Linked DNA regions of Homo sapiens: regions 1 and 3 are each linked to region 2. Evidence: promoter capture Hi-C in human tissues and cell types (Jung and others, 2019). All regions are on one chromosome and are shown on one strand. Each heading gives the region's core, a stretch centred on a gene start or on the middle of the fragment in contact. The rest is flanking DNA. Distances are from core to core; before and after follow the strand shown.

Region 1 (2,773 bases), core at 258-2,757, 220 kb before region 2:
AAAAGTATTTATACAGCTTACTCCTATTATTCATGCTTGGTAAATACCTATGTGAGCCCCCTTTTTCTCTTTAAGTGGAAAGTGGCTGTTTGCCTCATCTGGCTGTAATTTTGTGAGGTGAAGCACTGCCTATATAATGACCCCATAAGATTATGATATTGTATTTTTACTATACCTTTTCTATGTTTAGATACACAAACACTTACCATTGTGTTACAGTTGCCACAGTATTCAGTACAGCAACATGCTGTACAGGTTTGTAGCCTAGGTTTGTGTCAGTATACTATGTGATGTTTGCACAAAGATGCATTTCTCAGAATGTATTCTCATTAAGCAGTGTATGACTGTATTCTAATAGTATGCAGTGTCTTTTGTAGTCATTACTTCTGTTCCAGTTTCACTGCCACTGCCCTACTTTAGGACTTTATTACCTTTTGTTTAGACTGTTCTAACATCATCCTAACTAGTTTTCCTGCTTCCAGTTTCTTTTTTGCCAATCTTTTCTACCCACTCGTGTGAGTAGAGTCTTTTGAAGCCCAACCCTGATCATGTGACTTTGATGTTCACATCCTTTCAGTAGTTTCCCCATCACCTGTTGAATAAAATGCAAAATTCATGACATGGCACTCGAGTCTCTTCATGATCTAACCCTACCTTAGGCTTGTCTCTCACCATTACTCCTAAGACAAGAAATAATTCTGCTTAGCTAGATTTCTGTGTCTCTTTATTTATGATTATTTTCATTTTTGTTGTTGTTGTTTTTGGAGACCAGAGTCTCACTTTGTCCCAGGCTGGAGTGCAGTGGTGTGAACACAGCTCACTGCAGCTTCCACTTCCCAGACTCAAGCATTCCTCCCACCTCAGCCCCTCGAGTGGCTGGGATTACAGGTGCACGATACCACACCTGGTTATTTTTGTACTTTTTGTAGAGATGGAGTTTCACCATGTTGCCCACGCATGGACTCAAACTCCTGAGCTCAGGCAGTCCACCTGCCTCAGCCTCCCAAAGTGCTGGGATTACAGGCATGAGCCACTGCCCCCGGCCATTATTTTTATCTATTAAAAGACCCTTCTTTCTATCTCTCTACCAATTTCTTTTCTTTTCTTTTCTTTTTGAAACGGAGTGTCACTCTGTCGCCCAGGCTGGAGTGCAGTGGTGCGATCTCAGCTCACTGCAAACTCCACCTCCCGGGTTCACGCACGTTCTCCTGCCTCAGCCTCCTGAGTAGCTGGGACTACAGGCGCCCACCACCATGCCCAGCTAATTTTTTGTATTTTTAGTGGAGATGGGGTTTCACCGTGTTAGCCAGGATGGTCTCGATTTCCTGACCTCGTGATCCGCCTGCCTCAGCCTCCCAAAGTGCTGGGATTACAGGCATGAGCCACCAGGCCCGGCCAGTTTCTTTTCTTATTTTTATTTTTAAATTTCTTTTCGAAACAGGGTCTGGCTGTGTCAACCAGGCTGGAGTGCAGTGGCGTAATCTTGGCTCACTGCAACCTCAACCTCCCAGGCTCAAGCGACTCTCCCACCTCAGCCTCCTGAGTAGCTGGGACTACAGACGCACACCACCATGCCCAGCTAATTTTTGAATTTTTTGTAGAGATGGCGTTTTGCTATGTTGCCTAGACTGGTCTTGAACTGCTAAGCTCAAGTACTCCACCTGCCTAGGCCTCCCAAAGTGCTGGAATTACAAGCGTTAGTCACTGTGCCCAGCCTCTCTCTACCAATTTCCACCTGTCCTTCAAGGCCCAGCTGCAGTGCTGCTTCAACTGTAAAGCCTTCCCTAGCTCCTCAGCTAGAGTTATATATTGTAACACCTAGCATAATGTTTCGTGTTTAGTGGAAACTATGGAATTGCCTTTTAAAAATTTATTTATTTATTTATTTTTTGAGCTGGGGTCTCACTGTCACCCACGCTGGAGTGCAGTGGTGTGATCTTGGCTCTCTGCAACCTCCGCCTCTCAGGCTCAAGCGATCCTCCCACCTCAGCCTCCCGACTACCTGGGACCACAGGCACACACCACCACACCTGGCTATGCCATATTGTTTAGATTAGAATGGTCTAATATCACCATTTCATTTGGTTCTAATAGTCATTCAGCAAGTATCTGAGTGTCTGCCCATTATCCATATTAGGAGCACAAAACGCATTACTAGTGGTCACACACATAAAAGGTATGTTATAAATAGTACTGGAACAGATCAGCATAGTTGATTTTCTTTATCTGCAGAAGTTCTATAAAGTTCCCACTGAATTAGCAAGTACTAAACTAGTGCTCCTAGGGAAAGTGCAAAATTAGGTCCAAGCCTCTGGTCACAATATTTTCACCAATACCATATACAATACATGGTCTTGTTTTATGAGTGTTTCTGTTTAAAGACATTTAATTTAATTGATTCATATCATTGAACTCACGGCCAATAGCACTAGAACTCATGCCTGAACAAAGCTTATCTAATGCATTATTTTCTTTGTAAGGTATATCACAGCCTTCTTATGCTTAGGAATGCTCAGCAGCACTTCAGCACTACAGTTGGGGACCATTATAAACAGCAAAATCACTAACAAAAAGCACCCAAAAAATGCAAAATATGTGACACTAAATAGTCCTCAGAAAGGATACTTATTTACAGTGATGAGAGCTGAAATAAGAAGGTGGAGGCTTGACCTCAGCTGGGAATGTGCCTGCAGAGTGACTTTGCAGCTCTGTGCATGTGCGTGTCCAGAAATGACCGTGAAAGTACCTCAAGTATTGATTTTGGAGTAACAAA
Region 2 (2,700 bases), core at 70-2,569:
TTATTCATATTTCAGAAATCAACTCTATCATCAAATAGGAATGATGGTTAATTACAAAACAAAGTCCGCCCAAAGCACCAAATTATCAGACTGTGGCACATCCAGAGGTTTTGAAACTAGTTAGTGCTGCTGCCTCTGCTGGTAGCTTGTTAAAACCTGAACTGGGGCCGGGCGCAGTGGCTCACGCCTGTAATCCCAGCACTTTGGGAGGCCGAGGCGGGCGGATCACGAGGTCAGGAGATCGACACCATCCTGGCTAACACGGTGAAACCCCGTCTCTACTGAAAATACAAAAAAAATTAGCCGGCCGTGGTGGCGGGAGCCTGTAGTCCCAGCTACTCTGAGGCAGGAGAATGGCGTGAATCCGGGAGGCAGAGCTTGCAGTAAGCCAAGATTGCGCCACTGCACTCCAGCCTGGGCGACTCCGTCTCAAAAAACAAACAAACAAACAAAAACACAAAACCTGAACTGGGTGCGTTGGCTAGTGGTTTGGGAACAGAATTTTGGAGCTTTATAGGAGATGTCCTGGTCTGTTATACATCCACTCACCCCAGCCTCCAGGAACTGGGGAGCTGGTAGAGGGGGGTGCCGGCCACTTTGACTGTCGCTGGCCAATCCTGTCTTCTGCATCCCTCCAAGGCTCCATGGGGACATCCAAGGTGAGGTTCCTCCATTCTGCAAAGTTGCAAATGTCTCTGCTCATAATTTCAAAAGTCTTGTCTGAACTAGACTTTCCCTGCTCCCTCGGGGTAGGAATTTTGTCTCCTCTCCATCCTGGCATCTTTACCTCCTCCCCATCCCGGGGCCTGGTCCCCAGCCAGTGGACGCTCTGTTAATATGAACTGGCACTGGTGGGGTGCTCTGGGCACTGGCAAGACAGCTCTTGGCGCTTGTCATCAATTAGCCCAATTCTCACCACTTTTTTCTCCATCCCCGCGTCAGTGGGTGCGTCCCGCAGGTCATGACCCCAAGTTCTAGATGTAAGATTCCTGCCATGTCTCCTTTCCCCCAGAAGACCCCTCCCCGCACTCCCAACCCGACAGGCCCCTAAAGCTGCCTGTGTTCCGTGCCTGCGGCTCCGGACCCCTGGAGTCTGATGCCCGCCTGGGCTCAGGCACGGACGGAGTGGAGCCAGGTGGCAGCAGGCAGGGCGCGCCGCCAGAGTGCCCAGCTCCCGGGGCTGCCCACAGGGTGGGGCCGCCCTCGCCGCCGCTCCCTCTCCGCGCCTTCCCCATCCCCAAAGAGGACACCCCTCCTTCCGCCCGGCCCGCTCCCCACCCCCGCCGCGGCACCGCCTCCCCAGCCGCCCGCCCTTGCCCAGCGCCTCCCAGGCAGCCAGCGAGCGAAGGGAGCGCTCTGGGATGGGACTTGGAGCAAGCGGCGGCGGCGGAGACAGAGGCAGAGGCAGAAGCTGGGGCTCCGTCCTCGCCTCCCACGAGCGATCCCCGAGGAGAGCCGCGGCCCTCGGCGAGGCGAAGAGGCCGACGAGGAAGACCCGGGTGGCTGCGCCCCTGCCTCGCTTCCCAGGCGCCGGCGGCTGCAGGTGAGCGCGGCGCGCTTTCCCCCGGCTCTGCGCGGCCGGGCGGCCTCGAAGTGCAGGCGGACCGACCCACCGACAGAATACCGAGCCTGGGCTGCCCGACGCGCAGGCGCCCTCCCCAGGCCCGCACTGCAGCCCCCAGCGCCCCGGGGCCCCGGCGCCTTCGACCCCTCCGAGGACAGGGGGAGAGGGAGGGCGGCGCTGCCCGACCCCTCGGCCGGGAGAGCTGGGCGCGCTCCCTGCGCAGGACAAGCCGCGCTGCAGCCGCCCCGGAGTGCCCCGTGGGGGCGCTGTGGCACGCAGCGGGGACGCCCAGACCCCGGCCACCGCGACCCAGGGAAAGGGAGACCTGTTGAGCGGGTATGCAGGGTGATTCCTATTCCACGGACAGCCGATGGCTCCCCCTTCCCTCTTCGGAACCTGGTATTTTCATGCCCGTGTCATCTGGATTTTGTTCTTGGGTCTCTATGGCAGCTAAACCTCCAGCTTCCCTATATTGTGGAAGAGGGAGAGAAAGGGGAAGGCATTTTGTGGTAGTTGCTAGAAACCCCAGAACAATTTGGAGCCGTTTGGGGAGAGGACAGAGAAATGGGGACTGTCCCTGGTAGGGTCTCCAGGACTGGGGGCACAGGAAAGTGCTCTCCTCAGGGACACTCGCGCCCACCCTGAACAAACCCAATTGACCAAGTTTCAATTTGTCATAAATCAGGAAGCCACAATGCATCTGCACCAAGCACACTTAAAATCGGCCTTTAAGGAATGGGGCAGTCAAGAGACTTCAGGGACCCGTGGTCGAGAGCAGAGACTGGGGTCAGCCTGCTTGGGTTTCAACCCCAGCTGTGAAGTTTACAGGGTTGATAACTTGAAGGTACCCAAGTATGCCTCAGTTTCCTCATCTGTCTAATGAGGATGGTAATACCCACAGAACTGTGAGGATTAAATGAGATATGGCGGCCGGGCACGGTGGCTCAGGGCTGTCATCCCAGCACTTTGGGAAGCCGGGGCGGGCGGATCACCTGAGGTCGGGAGTTCGAGACCAGCCTGACCAACATGGAGAAACCCCGTCTCTACTAAAAATACAAAATTAGCCGGACTTGGTGGCGCATGCCTGTAATCCCAGCTACTCGGGAGGTTGAGGCAGGAGAATCGGTTGAACCCAG
Region 3 (2,700 bases), core at 65-2,564, 240 kb after region 2:
AGTAAATAAAATCTATGCATAAAAAACTTGTTAGGAGAGTTTAAAAAGCCTGAGAAGGATTTAATGAAATTAAGCTTTTGAAAAATGGATATGTAGGATTTCAGTATATTGTTTTAGGGAATGCAATAGAAATGTCTTAGAACTTTTTCATGGGGGGTATACAACATATTTCCAATCAGATTATTAATTCTTTTAAGATCTATGACCATTTCTTTAGCATCTCCTACCACTCTTAATTCATAATGCACATTCATTAATGTGACCAGATTTCTTTCTTTTTAAAAATGGAAAATAGGAATAAAGCCAAATTACTTACACTGTTTGTAGATTTCATTGACAGTATTGAAGTCATTTATGTCAGCCAGAAGAACAGTTGTTTTCACCACTAGAAGATATAAACATTGTCATTAGGTTTAGTTATTTGGTCTGACCCAAAACATTACTTAGAAAAAGAGTGTATGAATCTGAGACTGTCTTGATTAAAATGGGACTGAAATGGGACCAAAGAAGTGAAGTAGAACAGTTGCTATTTAAAACAACTTTTAAATAGCAACAAAGATATGGCACGGCATCTTACTGGATGCCATATATTTTTCAAAAAGACCAAAGAAATATCAAAAAGAAATGTGAAATAATATCAAATTGCTCACCGTTAGTGAAGTCACAGCCTGCAGCTTTCAGAATTTCACCCATGTTTTTAAGAGCCTGTGAACCAAGCCAAGAAAGGCCTAAGTCACTGATGTTAGATTTAAAGCTTTAATTAAATTCAATTAATCATCTTTTACTAATACCTCCTTAAATAGCCTATGTTGCAGAAAAATCCTCCCTACTCGCTTACAAGTGTGTTTCTTGGCTTTCCTTTAATAGAATGAGTCTTTCTGATATATGGTGAAAATGTTGTCTCCTTTTGTGCGTAAAAAGACTAGGTTGAAGTTCCTTCTTCAGTGCTAAAATGTGTTAATTGTTCAGCCAATGTCCACAGAAATAATTTCTGGTGTTCTTCATTCGATATCACGTCAAGGATAAGGATGAGCTAGTAAGCATTAAAACATATTTTCTTTTAAAGCAATATTTGACTTCAAAGGGTTCTTTTTCCTTTTTCTCAAAAAAACAATATTAGTAAATTATATAACAGTTGGAGACACTGGCTTCTGGAAAAACATTTATCTTTTTTTGGATTCACTCTTCCCACTTTGCTGGTCACAATGCAATATTTCATTATATTCTTGTGTCTTTTAAAATAATCTTCTAAATAGGTAATACATGGATATGGCAACAACAACAACAAAAAAACTCAAAAGCTATTAAAAAAGCATATACCGTGTAAAGATATCTCTCACCCCTCTCTCCCTCTCCCAAGTTTCCCTCCTCAGAGGTAACCACTGTTCCTAATTTATTGTATATCCTTCTAGGTACAGTCAATGCTTATGTTACATATTTTTAAACACACAAGCACACATGGTAGCATACTGTGCATGTTGTTCTGCATCTTGGTTTTATTACCATGGAACAATTTACCTCGGAGATCTTTCCACATTACTTTAGTTGTATTGATCTAGCATAATTTATTCAACCAGTTCTTTATGAGTGGATATTTAGGTTTTTAAAAATCTTTCAGCTAGGCCGGGTGTGGAGGCTCATGCCTGTAATCTCAGCACTTTGGGAGGCTGAGGTGGGTGGATCATGAGGTCAGGAGATCGAGACCATCCTGGCTAGCACGGTAAAACCCCGTCTCTACTAAAAATACAAAAAATAAGCCAGGTGTGGTGGCGTGTGCCTGTAGTCCCAGTTACTTGGGAGGCTGAGGCAAGAGAATTGCTTGAACCTGGAAGACAGAGGTTGCAGTGAGCTGAGATCACGACACTGCACTCCAGCCTGGGCGACAGAGCAAGGCTGTCTCAAGAAACAAAACAAAACAAAACAAACTTTCAGCATTATATGACTCAGTAAATGCAGTAAATTATAGTTTATTGTTTTATTTTATTTTATTTTTTGAGACAGTGTCTTGCTCTGTGTCCCAGGCAGGAGTGCAGTGGCACGATCTTGGCTTCCTGCAACTTCCACCTCCCAGGTTTAAGCGATTCTTCTGCATCAGCCTCCTGAGTAACTGGGACTACAGGCATGTGCCACCTGACTGGGTTACTTTTTTTTTCTATTTTTTTTTTGAGACAGGGTTCTTGCTCTGTTGCCCAGGCTAGAGTGGAGTGGCACAATCTCAGCTCACTGCAACCTCCGCCTTCCGGGTTCAAACGATTCTCATGCCTTAGCCTCCCGAGTAGCTGGGACTACAGGCACATGCCACCACACCTGGCTAATTTTTGTATTTTCAGTAGAGACGGGGTTTCACCATGTTGGCCAGGCTGGTCTTGAACTCCTGACCTCAGGTGATCTGCCCGCCTCGGCCTCCCAAAGTGCTGGGATTACAGGTGTGAGCCATTGTGCCTGGCCTCCCCCAACTAATTTTTGTATTTTTAGTAGAGATGGGGTTTCACCATGTTGTCTAGGCTAGTCTTGAACTCCTGACCTCAAGTGATCTGCCAGCCTCGGCCTCCCAAAGTGCTAGGATTACAGGTGTGAGCCACATCGTGCCTGGCCTAAATTATGGTTTAATTATATTTATTGGATTAAAATTATATTCCCCATTCTTATTTTTAAAAATGTTGACTTTTTACTTCTGTGGTGGTAATTTTTTTTTTTTTT

Evidence for each region. Contacts are between HindIII fragments. The study calls those that stand out against the background at their distance.
Region 1: a contact is called between a fragment that was not itself captured here and the fragment with the promoter of MATN2 in region 2, in 1 of the 25 tissues and cell types used here (heart right ventricle).
Region 3: a fragment that was not itself captured here is called in contact with the fragment with the promoter of MATN2 in region 2 in 3 of the 25 tissues and cell types used here (liver, mesendoderm cells and thymus).

The regions. Positions count from the first base shown.
Region 1 is chr8:97,648,859-97,651,631 of GRCh38, forward strand. All of the region lies in intron 1 of MTDH (metadherin), which reads left to right. Among named protein-coding and RNA genes, the nearest start is that of MTDH, 6.1 kb to the left of the region's middle. The HindIII fragment of the contact is 5,862 bases long and covers 1-2,773 here.
Region 2 is chr8:97,867,745-97,870,444 of GRCh38, forward strand. MATN2 (matrilin 2) reads left to right here and starts at 1,320. Exons shown (of 19, transcript NM_002380.5): 1 at 1,320-1,543. RefSeq lists an enhancer at 421-920. The HindIII fragment of the contact is 19,586 bases long and covers 1-2,700 here.
Region 3 is chr8:98,105,622-98,108,321 of GRCh38, forward strand. RIDA (reactive intermediate imine deaminase A) reads right to left here. Exons shown (of 6, transcript NM_005836.3): 3 at 651-705; 4 at 317-385. Among named protein-coding and RNA genes, the nearest start is that of RIDA, 10 kb to the right of the region's middle. The HindIII fragment of the contact is 4,745 bases long and covers 1-2,700 here.